Regions from separate parts of the Homo sapiens genome. Here region 2 is linked to region 1. The links are contacts of gene promoters, found by promoter capture Hi-C in human tissues and cell types (Jung and others, 2019). All regions are on one chromosome and are shown on one strand. Each heading gives the region's core, a stretch centred on a gene start or on the middle of the fragment in contact. The rest is flanking DNA. Distances are from core to core; before and after follow the strand shown. Region 1 holds the start of CABP1 (calcium binding protein 1). Region 2 overlaps SPPL3 (signal peptide peptidase like 3).

What was found. Contacts are between HindIII fragments. The study calls those that stand out against the background at their distance.
Region 2: a fragment that was not itself captured here is called in contact with the fragment with the promoter of CABP1 in region 1 in 5 of the 25 tissues and cell types used here (adrenal gland, pancreas, small bowel and 2 more).

The regions. Positions count from the first base shown.
Region 1 is chr12:120,638,635-120,642,380 of GRCh38, forward strand. It overlaps CABP1 (calcium binding protein 1), which reads left to right and starts at 1,992. Exons shown (of 6, transcript NM_001033677.2): 1 at 1,992-2,705. The coding sequence starts at 2,052. It overlaps CABP1-DT (CABP1 divergent transcript), which reads right to left and starts at 1,888. Exons shown (of 2, transcript NR_183426.1): 1 at 1,416-1,888. RefSeq lists an enhancer at 1-380 and silencers at 1,852-2,151, 2,372-2,471, 2,482-2,651, 2,872-2,971. The HindIII fragment of the contact is 37,846 bases long and covers 1-3,746 here.
Region 2 is chr12:120,801,463-120,805,208 of GRCh38, forward strand. All of the region lies in intron 2 of SPPL3 (signal peptide peptidase like 3), which reads right to left. Among named protein-coding and RNA genes, the nearest start is that of ACADS, 78 kb to the left of the region's middle. The HindIII fragment of the contact is 8,897 bases long and covers 1-3,746 here.

The DNA of each region.
Region 1 (3,746 bases), core at 742-3,241:
GGGTGGACTCATTACACCCTGCATATCCCAGAGGACCCTGCAATGAGCCTTCAGGGCTGCAACGCCCCAGGCTGCTTCAGGATTTGGGCTTTAGGAACCTGAGTGGCTTTGATATGGCAATTCAGTCCCTTAAGGGTAGCTGATCTGGGGAACAATTTGCCACACTTTCCTAGTTTACTTTAGCCTCTGGGCAGTTGCTTTCCCAGCCCATCCATTTTCCTTAATTCCTTGCCTATGGATAAGTAAAAGAGGCACACAGGGCCCAGCGCGGTGGCTCACGCCTGTAATCCCAGCATTTTGGGAGGCCAAGGCGGGCAGATCATGAGGTCAGGAGATCGAGACCATCCTGGCTAACATGGTGAGACCCCATCTCTACTAAAAATACAAAAAATTAGCTGGGTGTGGTGGCGGGTGCCTGTAATCCCAGCTACTCGGGAGGCTGAGGCAGGAGAATCGCTTGAACCTGGGGGGCAGAGGTTGCAGTGAGCCGAGATCGTGCCACTGCACTCCAGCCTGGTGACAGAGCAACACTCTGTAAAGAAGCAGACAGTGCAGAGAAGGATGAACTCTTGGCATGAGTGAAGTGTAATATCGGCAATCTGTTTGTGTACCCTTCTTTTTTTTTTTTTTTTTTTTTTTTTTTGAGACAGGGTCTCACTCTGTTGCCCAGGCTGGAGTGTAGTGACCCAATCTCGGCTCACTGCAACTTTCACTTCCCGGGTTCAAGTTATTCTCATGCCTACAAGTGGCTGGGATTACAGGCGCCCACCACCACGCCTGGCTAATTTTTGTATTTTTAGTAGAGACAGGGTTTCACCATGTTGGCCAGGCTGGTCTCGAACTCCTGACCTCAAGTGATCCGCCGGTCTTGGCCTCCCAAAGTGCTGGGATTACAGGTGCGAGCCACTGTGCCCGGCCTCGTGTATCCTTTTAATGAGGCCGAGCGGTGACAAGACTGTGGATGGCATTGGGGCCAGGGACCAGAACAGGGAGAGCCTGGGAGGAACCCCTCCAGCCCCCCGCAAAGCTCAAGCACCGGATACTAAAGAAGAATGGTAGATGGGGCCTCACGATGTGCAGGGGGAAGGGAACTGGCTTAACTGGATGGTCCCCTGTCCGAGCACTGGGCTAGGCCTTTTGTGTGCATAGTATCGTCTGCTGTTACCAAGAAATTAGTTATGCTTATCATCTGCATTTTACAGAAGAGGAGAACAAGGCTCAGAGAGGTTGATGACACCTGCCCAAGTTACCCAGATGGTAGGTGGCAGAGCTGGGATTTGAGATTCAGATAAGGCCTGGGACGCTCCCTGGCTGCCCACCGAGAGCAGGAATTTCTGTAGCATCTAGAAAGGCAGGAAGGTGAAAGAGGGGACAAGAGCTGGAGGGGGAGCAAATGGGTCCTACCTGAGACTTACCATCATCAGGTGCTGCCAGACCTGGCTTCTCTTCTATTCTGAGAACTGATATCCTGTGGCTGACTTACCAGGGTCGTCCTAGTCCCCCCGCACGGTATTGGGAGTGGAGGCAGCCCCACACGGAGGCGCTGGGAGACTTTCCTCCCAGCAGTGTCCTGTCACTGCATTCCGGCCCCTGCGTTTGTAGGCAGTGATGTCACAGAGTGCCTTCATGCTCCTCGGGTCTCCGGTTCTCCCCGGACCTCTGTAGTCCTCATTGCCAAAGTTGTACCCCCTGGGGAGTGCACCCTGCCTGCATTTCTGGAGGTTCGGGCGGTTCCGGGGCTCTGCAGGAGCCTCCAGGCGTGATAAAGAGCGCTGCCGGCACTCCCGGGGTCTCGGCCTCTTTGGGGCCCATTGCCAAGCCCCTTCCCTCCTCGTGCTCCCGCTCCGCGTTGCAGCGTCCCCTTCGCCGCCAGGGGCCGCCCGGAAGCGGGGCTCCCCCAGGGCGGGGCGGGGCAAGGGGCGGGGCGCGGCGGTACCTGGGCCGCCAGGGAGCCGGGGGTGGGCTCTCCGGGGACAGCCGGCAGCGCCCCCAGATCTGCACCGCCAGCCGCCGGGAGCTCCGGGCTCCGGGCGTAGAGGCTGCGCTGTCACATGGGCGGCGGCGACGGGGCCGCATTTAAGCGGCCGGGGGACGGCGCCCGCCTCCAGCGCGTCCTCGGGCTTGGCTCCCGCCGGGAGCCCCGTTCTCTGCCCGCCGGGGGCCCCGCGCCGCGCCGCACCGCGCCGCCCCCGCCGGGCCATGCGAGCGCGGGCCCCGCCGCGATGAGCTCGCACATCGCCAAAAGCGAGTCCAAGACGTCGCTGCTGAAGGCGGCGGCGGCGGCGGCGAGCGGGGGCAGCCGGGCTCCCCGCCACGGCCCTGCCCGGGACCCGGGGCTGCCTAGCCGCCGGCTACCCGGCTCCTGCCCGGCGACGCCGCAGTCGTCCGGGGACCCCAGTTCGCGGAGGCCCCTGTGCCGGCCGGCGCCGCGAGAGGAGGGCGCGCGGGGGAGCCAGCGTGTGCTCCCCCAGGCGCACTGCAGGCCCCGGGAGGCGCTGCCGGCCGCGGCGTCCCGACCTTCGCCGTCGTCGCCGCTGCCGCCGGCCCGCGGGCGGGATGGGGAGGAACGGGGACTGTCCCCGGCGCTCGGCCTCCGGGGCTCTCTGCGAGCCCGGGGCCGCGGGGACTCCGTTCCAGCCGCCGCGTCCGAGGCGGACCCGTTCCTCCACCGGCTGCGCCCCATGCTCAGCTCCGCCTTTGGCCAGGTAAGGGCCGCGCCTCCCGTCAGCGCTCCCGGGAAAGGCGCTCGGGACCCTGCCGGCCGCGGTTGCGCGTCCACAGCCTCCTCCCGCGGCCCGTGGTCCCCCACGGATCACGCCTCGGCTCACCTCGTCCTCCCCGGGCCGGCGCCCTTGCCGGCACTCCTCCTCCCCGTGCCTGATTCAGCACCCCGTGCGCTGTCCACGCTCCGGGCCTCTTGGGGCAAGGCCCTCCCCGCTAGCCTCCCTCATACCCGCCAGAACCCGCCAGTCCTGGAAGAGAGCGACCTCTACGACCGTCCTGGAGATTTGCGGGGGTCAAGGAGGGGCGCTCCGAGCAGGTGGCGCCAAACCCACTCCTCTGGCCTCTGGCCAGTACCGCCAGGGAGGGACTCAGGAGAGCAAGCGGTTTGGAGTCTGGGGGTCAAGAGAGGGGACCTCAGAGAACACAGAATTACTTGAGGGCGAGGGACACTGGCCACTGCCTATCATGTCCCTGAAGGCCTGAGAAAAGTTAGGAGATCCAAAAATATGAGGAAAGAGAAGAGGTGTCTGGGTAGGCATGGAGGGGCATGCAGAGCTGTGGCTCAAACTGGAACTTTGGGGTGGTTTAAGGAGGCTGTCACTCTAGGGATGCCATTGGAAGGGTGAGAAAGGCCACAAAGAGGTCATCAGTGGTTCCCTCAGGCCTTTCCCTCAAGAGTCCCAGGCACCTGGGAGCCTGCCCTTTAAAAGCAGCTCCGTAGTCACAATATAGGTCTACAGTTTGAGGCTGTGCTGCTGGGGAAACAGGCTCAGTAGAAGGAAACCTCTGAACTCCTGAGCAAAAAAGCCAGGGTTTCCCCTAGTTCGGAGTCTGTAATCAAGTCAAACTCATTGGCACAGCTTTGAGACAGTTCTGTGGCAGCCTCCGAGAGGTGTCATGCAGAGGTCTGATTAGAGCGTTTGCGTGGTTTGTAGGGAAACAGGGGGGGCTGTGCCTTTCTGTGCTGAGATCTAGCATAAAGAAGCTGTTTCAAGCTCCTGGCTTGCCACGCCGGATCAGAA
Region 2 (3,746 bases), core at 824-3,323, 160 kb after region 1:
GTGCACATTAACAAATCTGTATGCCTTTTCTATTAATCTGCTATTTGTCAGTGGATTTTTCAGCGAGGATTCAGGGGGCACAGAGGAAGTTTTCCCTTGGCCCTGTTACACCAAGTAATGGGCTCACTGCTTGACGCGCTACATCTTTCCACATTAGTATATACTGCTTTTTTCTCATAAAAACAAACAAACAAAAAAACCTACAGAGTATTTCTCCCCAAGTAAACTTGATCTGGTATCATTTTTAGATAAGCTGCACATGAGCTGTCTTACTACAGAGAAATATTAAGACCAGCAGGCTTTATAGGTGAATGATATGGTTTAGCCTTGAACTGGGTAAGGTCCAGATGGCCACTGACCCTGTCAGCTAATTAGTGTCAGTTAGAATGACAACTCATCAACATTCTTCAACTTTAAATTGGGTGTAAGTATAAATTCCAGTTTGGTGTTTTGGTCACTTTGATGTACATTTCACATGAAGTTTATTACAGACACTATATCAAGAAGTATATTAATATTCTGTGAGTGCCTTAATAAGATTTTAGTGTGGCTGAGGTAGAGATCTGGTTATATTTGCCCTAAATTTGTTTCAGGCTAGAATTAATTCAGTTGCAAGGAACAGAACTTTAGGAAATCAACTACTCATTTCTTTATGTCCTAGAGTGGATTAAAAAGGATTTTCTGAGGAAGATTCTAGGCCTGCCTTTAGGAACTTCCACTGCCTGCCTCAGGACAAGGGGAAACATGGGCTTATATTTAGGTATTAGGTTCCTTCATTCTGATAAAAATACGAATGCACCATGAGTGCTGTTAAGACAACTAGGTCTGTATTTAGCTGGCAACATAATACATTTTTGGGCTGCTGCTTTTATATATGTATGTATGTATGTATGTGTGTATATATATACATATATATGTATATATATACACATATATGTGTGTGTGTGTGTGTGTATATATATATATATATTTTTTTTTTTTTTCCTTTTTGAGATGGAGTCTCAGTTTGTGGCCCAGGCTGGAGTGCAGTGGCGCAATCTCGGCTCACTGCAACCTCTGCCTCCCAGTTCAAGCGATTCTCCTGCCTCAGCCTCCTGAGTAGCTGGGATTACAGGCATGCATCAACACGCCTGGCTAATTTTTGTATTTTGAGTAGAGATGGAGTTTCACCATGTTGGCCAGGCTGGTCTTGGAACTCCTGACCTCACGTGATCCTCCCACCTTGGCCTCTGAACATGCTGGGATTACAAGCGTGAGCCACCGTGCCTGGTCTGCTACCAATATTTATTAACAGATCAACATTCAAGAATAACCAGTTTAAGAATTAACAGCCCATTCATTCTCCAGATATTCCAAAATATAACCTTAGACCACACTTAGCAGTAAGATGGTTATCTAAACAACAACATCCTGTTGCCCACTGTGCACCTTCAATTTTGGCAAAACTGCTTTTGCTGAAATACATTTTCATGCAATGCCACCAACTTATATTGAAGGTACTACAATTCATTCAACAAACACTTATTTGAATGCCTACTGTGAGATGAATGAACTTAACATTATATCCTCTTTATGAAGGTCGTTAGGATAAAAGTCTGTCTGATCTTAAGGCCAAGAACAGTTGCGATTCACCTGAACAACTGAGTTCTTTTGATGGAAGGAAGCTGAGTTTTACATTCTTTCTTTTTAAATCTGGCTGCTACAAAGCTTATGGTGGTCCTTGTGAAACACTAGTAACAGGAGTGCTGGCATTATGGTATGCATTTTTACATTTCTTTTTTGGCTCTATTTTGTCTCCACTCATACTTTTAGTTTTCTTTGGCCCCATTTTATTTTTCCTTGAAGTAACTTGCAAAAGTTAGTACATGCTCTGAAATCGGGCAGTGAAGAGCACAAATAAACAATTGTAGGAAGCAAAATGGAGGGGAGAGCAGATCAGTTTATTGAAAGTTATACTCGTTCATCCATTTGCATTCTGATACCTGAGGACACTGTGAATTACTGGAGGAGAAAAGCAAATTGGAATTTTTAACCTTAACATTATTTTTTTCTCAGCTCCAGAAAGGAGTGAAAAAATGAAAAAATAATAAAATTTTAATTTATAAAAAATTTTAAAAAGAAAGTTTTTTGATAATTCTACTATTGAAAGTGAGTACAATGAAGCGGGGACTCACTGGTTCAAGGTAAACATTACATGGTTAAAGTTAGGTTAAGTTAAATATGTGTTCCTAGAAAACTTACAGTGGTTTTATAAATTGAACATTTAATAGTGAATTGATGAAATTCTTAAATATATAAAAAAACTTGTCTACACACGCTGCAATGGACAAAATCATTCCCTACGTCATCTAACAAGTTCAGGCTTCTGTGTATGATGTTTTCTTCAAGTAGGACGAGTTATGGAATGACAAAAAGGGTAGCTCAAAAGTTAATCAACATATTACACACAATTAGAACATCATGACAATTGTGAACCATAGTGACACTTGTTCTGGTGAACCATGGTCTAACTACAATTATATGCACTTAGAATGAAGGGCATCACAATCATATCAAGTATAGTTCTTATTAAAGAACTCAGCATCTCTGCAGGCTTACTAACCTGATGTTGTCTTCCTAGAGTAGGTTTGGGTATACGTAAATGAACTGCCCTCATTACCTAAGAAAGCATTGGTAGGTGCTTGCCTTTACAAAAAAGGAACTAGTTACTCTTGAGTTATAATACAAATGACCAAAAACTAACTCAAGAAAATCTAAATAGCCTTTTTTGGACAATGTTAAGACAGAAACTGTTACTAGAGATAAAGAGGAACATTTTATAAAAGTCAAGAAATAGATAACAATTATAAGCATACAGAAAGTGAAAAGACAAACCCAGAGGCACTTATAACAAAAACCCATTTTCACAATAAAGAAAGAACACTCAAAATTCAACAAGAAAAAGAAAACCCAATTTAAAAATGGACAGAAGAGTTGAAAAGACACCAAAGAAGAGACATAGATGGCAAATGGGCACATGAAAAGATGCTCAACATCAGTAGGCATTAAGAAAATGCAAACCAAAATTATAATGAGATACCACTTCATACCCACCAGAACAGTAGAATAGCTATAATCATAAAGATAGATAATAACAAGTGTTGGTGAAGAAGTGGAGAAATTGGAAACCTCATACATTGCTAGTGGGAATGTACAATAGCATAGCTGCCTTGGAAAACAGAAGCATTTCTTAAAATGTTAAGACTAAGAGTTACCATTAGACCCAGCAATTCTGCTACTAGGTATCTGCTTGAGGGCAATAAATATGTTATGTCTGCACAGAAACTTGTACACAAATGTTCACAGTAACATTATTCATAAAAGCCAAAAAAGGGAAACAACCCAAACGTCTATCAGCCAATGAATGGAAAAACAAAAAGTATTATTCAGTAATAAAAAGGAATGAAATACTGATAACATGCTACAACACAGATAAACTTCAAAAACATGCTAAGTGAAAGAAGCCAGTAACAAAAGGTCACATACTGTATGACACCACTTATACGAGAGGTCCAGAATAGGCAAATCTATAGAGATAAAAGGTAGATTCATGGTTGCCTAGGGCTGGCGGGCAGGGAAAGAGGAATGGGAATGACTGCTAACTGGTACAAATTTTCTTTTGGGATGATAATGTGCTAAAATTGGATTACAGTGACGGCTGAACAATTTTGTAAATAAACTAAAACCCACTGAATTGTATACTTTAA